4 separate regions of the Homo sapiens genome follow, and regions 1, 3 and 4 are each linked to region 2. The links are contacts of gene promoters, found by promoter capture Hi-C in blood cells and fetal thymus (Javierre and others, 2016). All regions are on one chromosome and are shown on one strand. The core of a region is centred on a gene start or on the middle of the fragment in contact, and the rest is flanking DNA. Distances in the headings are between cores, read along the strand shown. Region 1 has its middle 47 kb from the start of FRMPD3. Region 2 holds the start of MORC4 (MORC family CW-type zinc finger 4). Region 3 has its middle 110 kb from the start of DNAAF6. Region 4 overlaps FRMPD3 (FERM and PDZ domain containing 3).

Region 1 (3,187 bases), core at 511-3,010, 400 kb before region 2:
AATGGTATACATTTCCCATTAATTAAGGACATAAATATCCAGATTGTAAAGGTCCAACAGGTGCCCAGTTCAATTAATGAAAATGAAGCTACATTATGGCAAATCATCACAAACATTGAGAACATAAGGGATAAATAAAATATATTAAAAGCTTCCAGAAAAAAATCCAGGTTATATATAAAGGATTGGGGAGCCAGAATGGCATCAGAATTTCTAGTAGGCACACTGGAAGTTAGAAAACAATGAAAAAATGTTTTCAAAATTCTAAAAGAAAATTATTTTTAAATAAGAATTTTATACCTAGCAAAGCTATTAACCAAGATTTAGCTTAGAATAAATACATTTTCAAACAAGTAAGATCTAAGAAAACTTACCTCCCATATATCCTTTCTTAGGAAGTGACTAGAGGAAAGGCTCCAAGAGGCAGGACTGTTTGGGACCCAGGAAATAGGAAATCCATTATATAGCAGGGGAATGAAAGGAAGCACTAAGATGGTAGCTGTGCAGCAAGCCTAGAGGGCAATCAGTCCAGAGTGGATCAAAAGAATTGAGGCCTGTAGGACAGATTCTCCATTAAAAATATGAAACTGACAGAATTCTAGATTCCTTTGATCATGTGAAAAAGTATTTGGGGAAGGGGAATTTAAGGAATATTGGTGATAAATAAAAAATCAACACTTTTTTAAAAGGGACAAACTAACTTTAGGGAGAAAAGAGACGTAGAAGAGAAGAAATATAATCGTAGTATAACTTGACTCAGCAGTGATAGATATTGACATAGTCATAATAATGTAAACAACAAACATCAGTTTAAATAATAATTGCAACATGACTCTATTGGAAGGATGAAGGGTAGGGAAGTCCATGTTTATGTGTGTTGGTAAGGAAGGGTGTGTTTTACAGAACAAAAATTCTATACCCTCCTTAAATTATTGATGATTTGATCATATTTTCTCTGTTCTATATTAAAGTATTTCTTCTCTCTTGGGTCCTTCAGCTTTTAAACCTGTTTAAAACTCTCTCATTAATACAATAGAGCAAAAATAAAAATAAAAGAAAACCATCCAGCCAAATAATAAAAAACTTTCAAATTGACATTACCCTTCGGCTAACTACTCTCTCTCCTACTCCTTACCACAGCCAAATGTCTTGACAGAACGGTATATAGTCTCTCCCTTCATTTCCTCTGCAAAAAAAGCTACTTCCTCTGCAAAATAAGTTAGTTTATCAAGATTCCAGGCCACAAGATCTATATATAAAAATTAATTGTACTCCTATCATTGTCTGTTTTCTGAAAATTGACCTATAAATTCAAGGCAATCTCAATTAAAATCCTAGCATATTTTTGTAGAAATTGACAAGATTCTAAAATTTGTATGAAAATTCAAAGAACCTAAAATATCAAAAATGATTTTGAGAAAGAGTGAAATCGTGGTATTTATACTACCTGATTTCTAACGTTTTTATTTTAAAATTTTTAATATTCATGGGTATATAGTAGGTGTATATATTTATGAGGTACATGAGATGTTTTGATGCAGGCATGCAATGTGAAATAAGCACATTATGGAGAATGGGGGATCCATGCCATCAAGCATTTATCCTTTGAGTCACAAACTATTCAATTACATGTTTTCAGTTATTTTTAAATGTACAATTAAGTTATTATTGACTATAGTCACCCTGTTGTGCTATCAAATAGTAGGTCTTATTCAGTCTTTCTAATTTTTTTTGTACTCATTAACCATCCCCACTTCCTCCGCAGCTCCCCACTACCTTAAGCCTTACTATTAGACTCTACTAATCTAGGCAATGTGGTATTGATGTAAGAATACACATGCAGATCTGTGGAACAAAATAGCATATGTACAAATAAATATATATAATATATAATTTCAACATATCTAAATGTTAGGTGTATATATATATATATATATATATATATATATATATATATTCAACTTATTTTGGACAAAGATACTACAAAAATTCAACAGAGAAAGTATACTCTCTTTCTTTAAAAATTAAAAAAAATTTTTTTTGGTGATGGGGTCTCTGTTGCCTAGGCTGGAGTCCAGTGGTGTGATCATAGCTCACTGCAGCCTCAAACTCTTGGGTTCAAGCGATCCTCTTGCCTCAGCCTCACAAGTAGCTAGGATGACAAGTGCATGCCATTATACCCAGGTAATTAAAAAAAATTTTTTTTGTAATGATAAGATCTTGCTTTGTTGCCCAGTCTGGTCTTTAACTCCTGGGCTCAAGTGATCCTCTTGCCTTTGTATCAAGTAAATTTTGTCACAAAAACATCATAAAAACATAGAATGTGGTCACATGGCCTTTTAGCAAAAAGTGTTGGTTCAGTTCCATGTCCAAAATACTGCATAAAAAGTACTTCTGGCCAGGTGTGGTGGCTCACACCTATAATCCCAGCATTTTGGGAGGCCGAGGTGGGTGGATCACCTGAGGTCAAGAGTTTGAGACCAGCCTGGCTAAAACGGTGAAACCCTGTCTCTACCAAAAATACAAAAAATTAGCTAGGTGTGGTGGTGGGCACCTGTAATCCCAGCTACTCTGGAGGCTGAGGCAGAAGAATCACTTGAACCCAGGAGGCAGAGGTTGCAGTGAGCTGAGATCGCACCTTTGCACTCCAGCCTGGGCGACAAGAGCGAGAATCCATCTAAAAAAAAAAAAGTCCTATTAAGTAACTGTTATTCTTTTTTGTGTCTTTTTTGTTTTGTCATTCTTTTTTGTCTTTATAAACATTCTTCACTCGTCAATTCTTGAGTTTGAAAAAATTCATCTAAGATATCTTCGTCTGAAGAAGATTCACAATCTGAAATTTCACTTACATAATCAGTTTCACTATCATCAGTCTGGAATGCTGTTATCTTTCTCTTTGTATTCACATCCTGCTTCATCTAAAAATTATAAAACTCCCCTTTGTCAGTTTTTCTTCTATTTGTCATTATGGGAAGAAAATATGAAAAATATCTGTATTCTCAAATGGGTTTATTCCTAAAAGCGAGCTAGAAAACAAAAACAAAATAGCATTGAAAAACATCCAATATCTAAGAGCAAAACCAGAAAAAGTGTACAAGGCTTCTAAACAGAAAGTTCTAAAACATTTTTTGAGAGGAAGTAAATGAGACCTAAATAAATAGGTAAATTGTAAATCTCAATATTGTAA
Region 2 (3,094 bases), core at 205-2,704:
CTTGATAATTACTGCATCTGAGTAATAAGTACATGGGATTCATTATATTGTTTTCTGTACTTTTGTGTATTTTAAAAAATTGAAGAAAAGATAACTAAAAAACAGACAAATGTAAAGCACCCAATGGGGGTAAAAAATGATGCTCAAAGGACATAAACAGGCATTTGTAGAAGAGGAGATGCAAATGTATACTAAACATTTGAAAAGATATTCAGCCTTACTGGTAGTCAGGAAAATGCAAATTAAAACAATAAGGAGATACTATTTTTTATTGAAAAGACTATCAAAAAGTTAAAAGATTGGGACCATCTAGTGCTATGAACATGACAAAAGAGCACTGATTGTTGCTGGGAGGGCAAATTGCCTATCTTACAGTATTTATTAAGATTAAACCATGCACATGCTATTAGATGCAGCAGTCTCATCTTTTGGAATTCATTCTGTGGAGATAACAGTATCAGAAATTAATGACCTGTACACGAGTGTGTGAAGGAGCATTTTTTGTATTGTCAAAATTAAAAAAAGAGGACAACCTAAATTACCATAAAGGAATGGTCAAATAAATTATAGTTCATTCATGCCATAGAACATTACATATGTTTTTAATGAATCTGTTTTTCTATTATCAGTGTATATTTATAGTATATTAGAAAACACAGGTAAGAAAAAAGGAAAAAGTGTCTAGTTCCAGACCCAGAGATATCATCTTGGTGTATATCAAGTGGTTTTCGTTGTGTGTGTGTGTGTGTATATATATATGTATGTATGTATGTGTATATGTGTGTATGCATGCATATATATATATGTATATATGTATACATATATATTTGTTTTTCCAATAGAAAAGGCATCATGCGTTCCACAATATGTTGTAACTCCTTGTTTTCTTCATTCCTTCATGAATATTTTTCTACATCAACACATACTTATCTACAAACATGGCCTTCAAGAACTGGATGGTATTTCATTTTATGCATACTTCATAACTCGACCAATCCCCTACTTGGCGGTATTTAAGTGAATCCAATTTCTCCTTTTAGAAACACCGTCCCTGCATGCTAGCAAGACTTTGGAGATAGTTTGCTAATTGCCTTCCAGAAAGTTCTGGGTGCTTCTGGAGGCATTTGAGGCAGAGTAGGTAGAATGTTTTCCCATCAGGCGAGCTTGCTATCTTCCCAGATAGCAACACTGTAGTCTTTAGAACTTGAAAGACTTGTCTTATCTTGCCTGTTAGTCATGCAGCCTAAGCGGGACTAGGTTCCAGAAATCCCATACATGCTCTCCCTCCTCTTGCTTCATTCACGCCCCTCCCCACGCGCCACCCCCGCCCCCCGCGCTTTCCCGCTCGGCGGCCTGGCCTATGGCATACGCCAATAATTAATTAGGGGCGGGGATCAAGGAGCGGCTGTCAGGAGGTCGCCATATTTCTGTACGGCCCAGAGGCAGCCCGGGCAGTCGCCGGGTCGGTAGAGGTGCTGACAGGGCGGAGCCGCCGCTTGCCTCAGCCGGCCTCACCCCTCCCGCCCGGGACAGGTGGCTGGAGCGCGCTCCGCCTCCGCCAGCTGCGAGTGGGAGCGAGGGAGGGCCGGTCCCGGACGGTCGCCGCCAGCTGCGAGTGGAAGTGAGCGAGGGCTAGTCCCGGACCGCCGGGCCAGGGGTCCGGCGGCAGCAGACGGGTACCGTGGCGGCCAAAAAAATGCTCCTGTACCGAGGGGCCCCCGCCGGCCCTGGCGCGCCGGGCTGCGGGCTGGCCCGGCCCGGCGGCGGCCCGCAGGCCTTCGGGATCCGCCTGAGCACGGTAGGTCCGGGGCCCGAGGGGGCGGACGCGCGCGCGGGCCCCTGGGCTGCGGGGGGCGCGCGGGGAGGGCCCGGCGGGCCGAGGCCTCACGCGGGTCGGGACCTTCTCTCGCCCCCAGATGAGCCCCCGCTACCTCCAGAGCAACTCCAGCAGCCACACGCGACCCTTCAGTGCCATCGCGGAGCTGCTAGGTGAGTGGCGAGGGCGGGCCCGGCCGTGTTCGCCCGAGGCAGTGGTGCCAGCGTGGTGCCGCGGACGCGAGAGGAATGCGCAGAGCCGCGCGGGGCGGGCCGGGGCTGGGGTGGGGGCCTCGGAACCGGCCCCGGCTCCGCAGGCGGAGGAGGGGGATGGCTCTCTCGCCAGGAACTAGGTTCCGCTCATAAAACGGAGGAAACGAGGTGTGTCTGAAGCGTTAAAGACACCAGTGTGGTTTTTCTCTCGCGCTCGTGACGTTCGGGCACTTTAGGATAGCTTAGTTAGTAATCAAAAGGAGATGCATAAAAACCTCGGGCCCTGAGGCAGCTGGGTCCGCAGGGGCTGGCGACCGACGGAGGATGCCTAGCTAGCAAAGGGGCGTAGAGGACCGAGGCGGGTCCTGGGGAAAGGTCTGGAAAGCGGAGTTCCTTAACTTTTGAGACAAGAAAAGTTAGGAATGATGGGACATCTCTTAAGAGATGACACGAGTGCATTTGGCTCCCTGCTACTGCGGAGGGCTGGGTCCGTGGTCCACGAGCGCCCTCACACCGCTGGAATGAATATTGAGGACTTAACCTCTCGCTCCACCGGTGTTTGCTTTTAAAGTGTTTTCAGTTGATCCCTTCAAGCCAATTACACCAGTTTTTGCAGTAGTGTGCTACTGTGTGGAAAGCAAAGAAGAAACGCAGTCCTGCACAAAACGCAGCAGCATACAGGGCGCATTATACATGCTTTGAAAATCGAAAGAAGGAAGAAGTGTTTATGGGCAAGGTTGCACAGAACAAACTCTTGAAAATGTTTTCAAAGCTCCCCAAATGAACCCCGGTCTCTACTTAAGCAGTCGCTGTGGCCATGCCATGAGAGTTATCTTGGGTAAGAAGTCAATGGGTAGCAGGGGACTTACTTGGAAGGGTGATAAGAATGATAGAGACCTTTGATGATTAACCATAACACGGAATGCTTTACAATATGTGTAATTTAATTAGAAGGTGAAAGGCAAAAAGTGGAATTGATACGTTTGGAACCCTAGAGCAGAGGGACTGTATCTTTGAGGTTTGGTACTGTGCCTTGGGGCTGTGCACTGAACCTCTGCAGAATGGA
Region 3 (2,933 bases), core at 193-2,692, 320 kb before region 2:
AAGTAGTTCACTTCCTCCATGAGCTTTTTTGATCACTCCAGGCAGCACTAATATCTGTTCCAAAGGCGAAATATAGGTGGCTTTTAAGTTAAAATGGTTCTGGATTCAAATATGGACTCTGTCACTTACTAGCTCTGTGACCTTGAGCAATTGACTCCTTTCTCTTGGTGTCTAGTGGCTCATTTATAAGATGAGGTTATCGTAAAGATCAAGTGAGTAGTATATTGTGGTGATTCATTTACATGCATGTGAATGTTATCTTCAAGATATTTAAATCCATGACCATCACCAATTTTTAAATTATGAGCATTGATTTGGGTGCTTGAGCTTTTTTGGTTCATTTTTTGGTTACATACTGTCTCCTAATATGCTATAATGGCTCTATGTGCATAAATAAGACTTGTCTTCCCCCAGAAAAGCTGTGTTCTCATGGAAAGCAGAGCGTGAGCCATGCAGAATGACAATATAACTTACCATTCAAACCAAGACACTTTTGAGAGTGAGAAGAGGTGCTATTAATAATAATTGCCCCAGGTCTCATCACAAACCAGGACTGTCCCTGGGAAGCCAGGACACATGGCTATCCTAATCATATATTTCTTGAGAGTCTCTCCAACCCTCAGCCCAGTGCTAGCTAGGAAGTAAGTACTTGCTAAATCAATACTTGTGGAGTGGAATTGAAGGCCTGGCAGCCTCAGAAGTTAGCAAACATGGCTAGTCTTATGTAGCTCCTCCTTTCCTCCCTCTGTCTCTTGTGTGCTCTTCTTATTCAGCAGTAATGTCACCCCCAAATGGCACATTCATCATCCCAAATTAACCATTATTAAAGCCATCCATTTGCGGGGCTGCAGCTAAAATGAATTGTGTTATTATTCCAGTTACAGCAATGAATGGCTGAACATCAAAAGCCATTTTGATTTTGTAGCTAGAAGGCAATCAATTATTGTGTTCTGTCGGCTTGTCCAAAGTAGTGCCCAGCCTGCTGCTTGTGAGTATAAGCGTCCTTCTCCATCTTGTCATACACTCACACACCTCCTTAGACCTCCCCTCACAATACTGGAGAGCCCAGGAAAGGGAAGCATATATTCTTTCTACCAGTCTGGATCAACTCTTCCTCCCAAAAGTTGGGGTCTTCTCGGCTTTGAGGCTAAAGAGGCTTCTCCTGACTTACACTGCCTTTCTCTCTCCCACTCCTGATCCCTATAGGCCTGGGCAGTGAGCCAGCCTGAGTTTCAGTCTTGGTTCGGGTCCCCCTCCACTACCCTGCTACCTACACTACAGATTGGTCTTATCTGAGGCAACTTTGTGAGGCTCAGTACCCCCAGTGACTTCATTTCTCAACCCCTCCTTTTGGAGTCACACAGTTCTCAGGACCCCACCCCAGCTGCCCAGTCTCCTCACTCTGGAAAGTTACTGATGAATGAGAGGCTTAAGGCAGCTCATCTCCCAGAAAACCCCTGAACTGTAATAGAGTCTTCACTGTTTTACCTCAAAGGAATGATTTAAGCTCCCCAGAGTAGGACAGTGCACAAGAAAGGAAGAGGGTGATGGGAAATACTGCCTAGACAGGGGACTGGAAGAGGTATTGATCAGAAGGCCCTTTCTGTGGTGGAAATAATGATAATGTTGGTGAGAATAATAGCAGCTACTGCTTTTCAGCTGTTTATACTGTGCTAGACATAAACCTAGCAGTCCAGGCCCCTCTAAACCTCACTGTGCCCAACCTCTTGCTGTTGGAAAGACTAAATGAATGAAGGTACTGCAACTCTCCAATGCATATTTCCTGTGGGCTACACTGGGTGAAGTGCTGTGAGCTCTGCTACTTCACATCACATTACACTGCAGCTCTGCTGCCTTTAGCCAAATCTCCCCATTCATAGCCTCATCTCCCTGTCACCCACTTTGCTTTAGGAATCAGGCCTGAGAGTAAGATTTAGCAGGAGTGTGTAAGGTAGAGCAAATTTCCCCGGCTCTTCTCCCCATCAACAAGTAGAAGGCAACTAGGACCATGTTGATTACCTGAAATTAAGTTCTCTCAGCTGGATAATGTCCCCAAGGGCTACCAGTATAGAATTCATTTGCCTGTGCCCAGTGACAGAAATTACTCAAGACCTGGCATCTCCCTCAAGCCCCTAAAACAGGTTGTCAGCCCAATGGCTCTCTGATCACTAATATCTCCCTATCATCCCCCCCCCCCACACACACACTACAGACACACAGTCACACATTCTGATGAAATTATCTAATGAGATCCTTCTAAGATGTTCACATTGCTTGTGGGGACAGAATCAAGACTGTGAAGTATTTGACGATGATTTTTGTTTATGGTTTTAAATTCCATTCCTGTCATTACCAGGAAGAAGAAGAGTAGAAGGAATTCTCCCCACTTACAGGTGAGAAAACAAATATGAAAGATGAGAGACTTGTCAAAATTATGTTAAAAAAACAGACACTGGACTTGAGTGACAAATGTAGCCTTAGAGTTTCTGATTTGTTTTCTCACCTTAAGTAATCTGAGTTGCGAGTACTTGGCTATTTGTTCTTTTGGGCCAGGAAGATCCAAAGATTACTATGATCCTTCAAGTATTGAGTTGACTCAGATTCAACCTTGTTTTGCTCTGTTCCAACCTCTTTTTCTCTCAATAGGGAGCAAGAGCTTTCAAAATACAAATAATTGTTTTTCACAATTTAACAGCAAGGCCAGCTTATTGCAGACATTTAGAAGCTGAAGATAAGCAAAAATATATATAATCTGCAGTTTCACCACTCAGTGATAACTGCTGTAATCATTGTGGTGCATTTCCTTTTTGTCTTTTTTCTGTGTCTATATACCCATATGTGTACGTATTTTATACCATATTTCCTGCATTCTAATACACATATTCTTCATTTCTGAGATCAGGATGCATCTTATAATGATGTCAAAATGACTT
Region 4 (3,075 bases), core at 476-2,975, 460 kb before region 2:
TATGCTCCCACAAGAAGAACAAGTAAAAGGAGACTAAAATCTCACAAATATCCCTTTATCTGCAGTTCTCTATTTCCCTCCAATCCAGGGCTGGCAGACCTGGCCCAGACACCTATCCAGGGCTGATATTCAGTGGATTGGGTGGGGAGGGGAAAGTTGGTGGGGGAGGCAATTTAGCAGGCAGAGGCCCTGGCCATGACTCTCCCATCAACCTGTGGACTCCTCACTTAGTTTCCTTATACCAGCTGCAACAGGGCTCCAGCTGGCATCAAAGTGCTGTGGTAGCTCTTGCCATACTCTGGCACAGGTGTGACCTTCACTGAGATGATTCCCAAGTGCTCAGAAGAGTTTTCAAACTGATTCTACCAGGGAAGTTGAAAGATGTTTCCTCACTCTTACCAGCTCTCAGAAGCCTTGGGGGACTTGAAACAGACCAGACACAGGCATCGCCTGCCTCCGGCCTCCCTGTTGGGGGATGTAATACTCAGCACCCCAGCTTGGCTATCATCTCAACTGCATTCTGCAGCCAGATTCCTCATTGCTCACTCTTTCAGGTCATGGTACTGAAGGCCCCTGTGCGCATCTACTTTACTTGGAAAGGATAACTGATTATAATGCCCAATGTTATCTTAGCTCCAGAAACTCTGCCACCTTAAGGTCCTGAGGGCATGAGGCAAAGAAAGTGTAAGTATTGAGGCTAAGAGGAAGGAGCGAGTGAGACAAAAACAAGTCAAGAAAATCTACTTGGTGGTTTATCAGCCACACCGATGCCTTGAGAGCCTTTTGGATTTGACCCTCCTCTCTATGCCCACTGCCACCACCCTTATCACCTCTCACTTAGATTGCTGTAGTATCTTATAGGCTGGTCTCAAGTCTCTCCCTATTCCAATCAATTCTGCTTCCAACTGCATAGCTAACCATCCTGAATCACTATGCATAATTGTCCGACAGCCCCCAAGGTTTACCCAAGTCCAAACTTCTTCTGACATCAGAGACTCTTCAAATCTGGGAGTCCCATACCCAGCCAATCATTTTTTCCCCACTGTGCCTGCATATACACCCTCTCCTCTAGTCAGACTTCTTTCTGACCCTTTCTTGATAACACCCTGACCATTTCCATCTCCAGCCTTTTCCCTATGCTGTGCCTCCCCCTCAGAAGCCTGTTCCTTTTCTAGTCAACAATCTCAATCTCACATGTTACTCAAAACATAACGCAGGTTCAACTTCTTCTGGGAAGACTTCTCCCCTCATTCCAGCCCACACTCTCATTCTCTCTGTGCTTTGAACCCCTACAGTGCTTACTGTTTAGAGCAAAAAAATGTGGCACATAATTGTTTTCCATCTTGTATTATTCTTAGTTACTTCATATGAATGAGTATTATTTTTCTGTTAAATTACGGATTTCCAGAGAGCAGGGCCTTTGCTTTCCCCTTCTCACCATAACATTAGTACAGGGCTAGATCCTGGAGTGGTCAATAGACTTCTCTTCCCATGCCTTAACTCCAGTATGAAGGAAGGATGAGATAAGTGAAGCCCGCTAAGGATCTCCGCTGTTCATTCCCTCACCTTTCTCAAAAGATGTTCCAGACGGCAGAGGAGCTGAGGCTGCCGAGTGAGACATAGGCAGCCAATCAGCTGTCAGATCCTAGCTTTCAGAACACTCCCACCTCCTAAGGTTTTCTGGGCAATCAATAACGCTACTTAAGTGATCAATCTGAGGCACAATGGGCTGTAGGGGCCAGTGTTTGATTAACTTGAGAGAATAAATGTACGCTGGAAGAGAAAGAGCAGGGAGGGGGGAGCAGAAGAAAAAGCAAGAAGAAAGATGAGCTAGGGGAAGGAAGAGAGAGAAAAGCCTTTATGAAGGAGGGTATGATGGGATGGAGCTGAGAGTAGTTCTCACCTAATCCAATTCAACGAGTTAAGCAAGTTCCTACTGAGGTGTCGAAATAATCTTGGGGCTTTGTCAGAGTCCAGTGAATATCCCAGGGCTTTTAGGCAATTTTTGACTTTGGCAAGAACACTGTTGCCATGGTCCACTGAGGGTCCACACAGCCTCCATATTGGGTGGAAGAGTGGGTGTGGGATAGAGACTTCAGCCAATATCAAGGAAAGACATGGATCTTGAGCTATGCTCATTGGCTGTGTCTAGAGAAATCCCAGGTTCTGGCATCCTACACTCTCCTACCCAAGCCTGATGACTCAGAAACCCATGATGATATGGGACAGTAGGCTCATCTGCAAGGGAGATATCAGCATTACCTTCTCTCTATCCAGAATTGTATATACTATCCTCCCTCTCAAGGCCCTGGAGCTGGAAATTTAACTATTTGCAGTTAACAAAAAATACGGAGTCCCTTTCCAAATGTTTTCCAAACATTATCAAATGTTTAGCTATACCACGAATCAAATTTTTTTCTGGGAAAGATAGTATTATCTGGAAAAAAAAAACAGAGCAGATGGCCTCTTACTGTGAGAAAGTGAGAAAGTTCCTCCTTTAATCTAACCATGATACCTGCTGCTCTCATTAAAAACTCATCCTTCTCATAGGATGACATTGGTACCCTCCTGGTTATGCAGGCTCAAAGCCTTAGAATCATCTTTGACTCTTCCTTCTTCCTCACCCCACGCATTCAATTGGTAGGTAAATCAGGTTTCCTCTACCTCCAAATACATTCACCCATCTTCTTTCTGTCCCCAACCAGCTATGGTAACAACCGGCTAACTGGTCTTCCTGCCTCCAGAATGATCTTGTTTTAATCATTATGCCAAAGCGAGAAAAAAAGAAAAATGAGCTTGAATCTAATCAAGCCCAGAGCTAACTTCCATTTATAGAAAATATAGGGGATAGGTGAACAAGCTAACTGGCAATAAGAGGACAAACCAGAATGTGGGAATTGTGCAGAGCAAACAACCTGATTTCTGTGACAAGTCAAAGAGAGAGGGCTGTTGAAAGGGCCTTTAGAGACATAACAACCAAATGTCACGTGTGGAACTTTTTTGGAACGTCCGTCAAACAAGCCAACTGTAAAACATGTTTTGAGACAATTGAGGGCATATGATTATGGACAGGGT

What was found. The method cuts DNA at HindIII sites, captures the fragments that hold promoters and counts their contacts. A CHiCAGO score of 5 or more calls a contact.
Region 1: a contact is called between a fragment that was not itself captured here and the fragment with the promoter of MORC4 in region 2, in 1 of 17 cell types (M2 macrophages). The highest score is 5.3, in M2 macrophages.
Region 3: a contact is called between a fragment that was not itself captured here and the fragment with the promoter of MORC4 in region 2, in 1 of 17 cell types (M2 macrophages). The highest score is 5.6, in M2 macrophages.
Region 4: a fragment that was not itself captured here is called in contact with the fragment with the promoter of MORC4 in region 2 in 1 of 17 cell types (total B cells); the score reaches 6.7 in total B cells.

The regions. Positions count from the first base shown.
Region 1 is chrX:107,400,768-107,403,954 of GRCh38, reverse strand. No RefSeq gene overlaps it. Among named protein-coding and RNA genes, the nearest start is that of FRMPD3, 47 kb to the left of the region's middle. The HindIII fragment of the contact is 3,214 bases long and covers 154-3,187 here.
Region 2 is chrX:106,998,572-107,001,665 of GRCh38, reverse strand. It overlaps MORC4 (MORC family CW-type zinc finger 4), which reads left to right and starts at 1,454. Exons shown (of 17, transcript NM_024657.5): 1 at 1,454-1,798; 2 at 1,917-1,989. The coding sequence starts at 1,697. RefSeq lists silencers at 1,390-1,469, 1,480-1,689. The HindIII fragment of the contact is 4,977 bases long and covers 1-3,094 here.
Region 3 is chrX:107,318,926-107,321,858 of GRCh38, reverse strand. No RefSeq gene overlaps it. Among named protein-coding and RNA genes, the nearest start is that of DNAAF6, 110 kb to the right of the region's middle. The HindIII fragment of the contact is 4,381 bases long and covers 1-2,933 here.
Region 4 is chrX:107,456,600-107,459,674 of GRCh38, reverse strand. The region is part of intron 1 of FRMPD3 (FERM and PDZ domain containing 3); the gene reads right to left. Among named protein-coding and RNA genes, the nearest start is that of FRMPD3, 8.5 kb to the right of the region's middle. The HindIII fragment of the contact is 9,275 bases long and covers 1-3,075 here.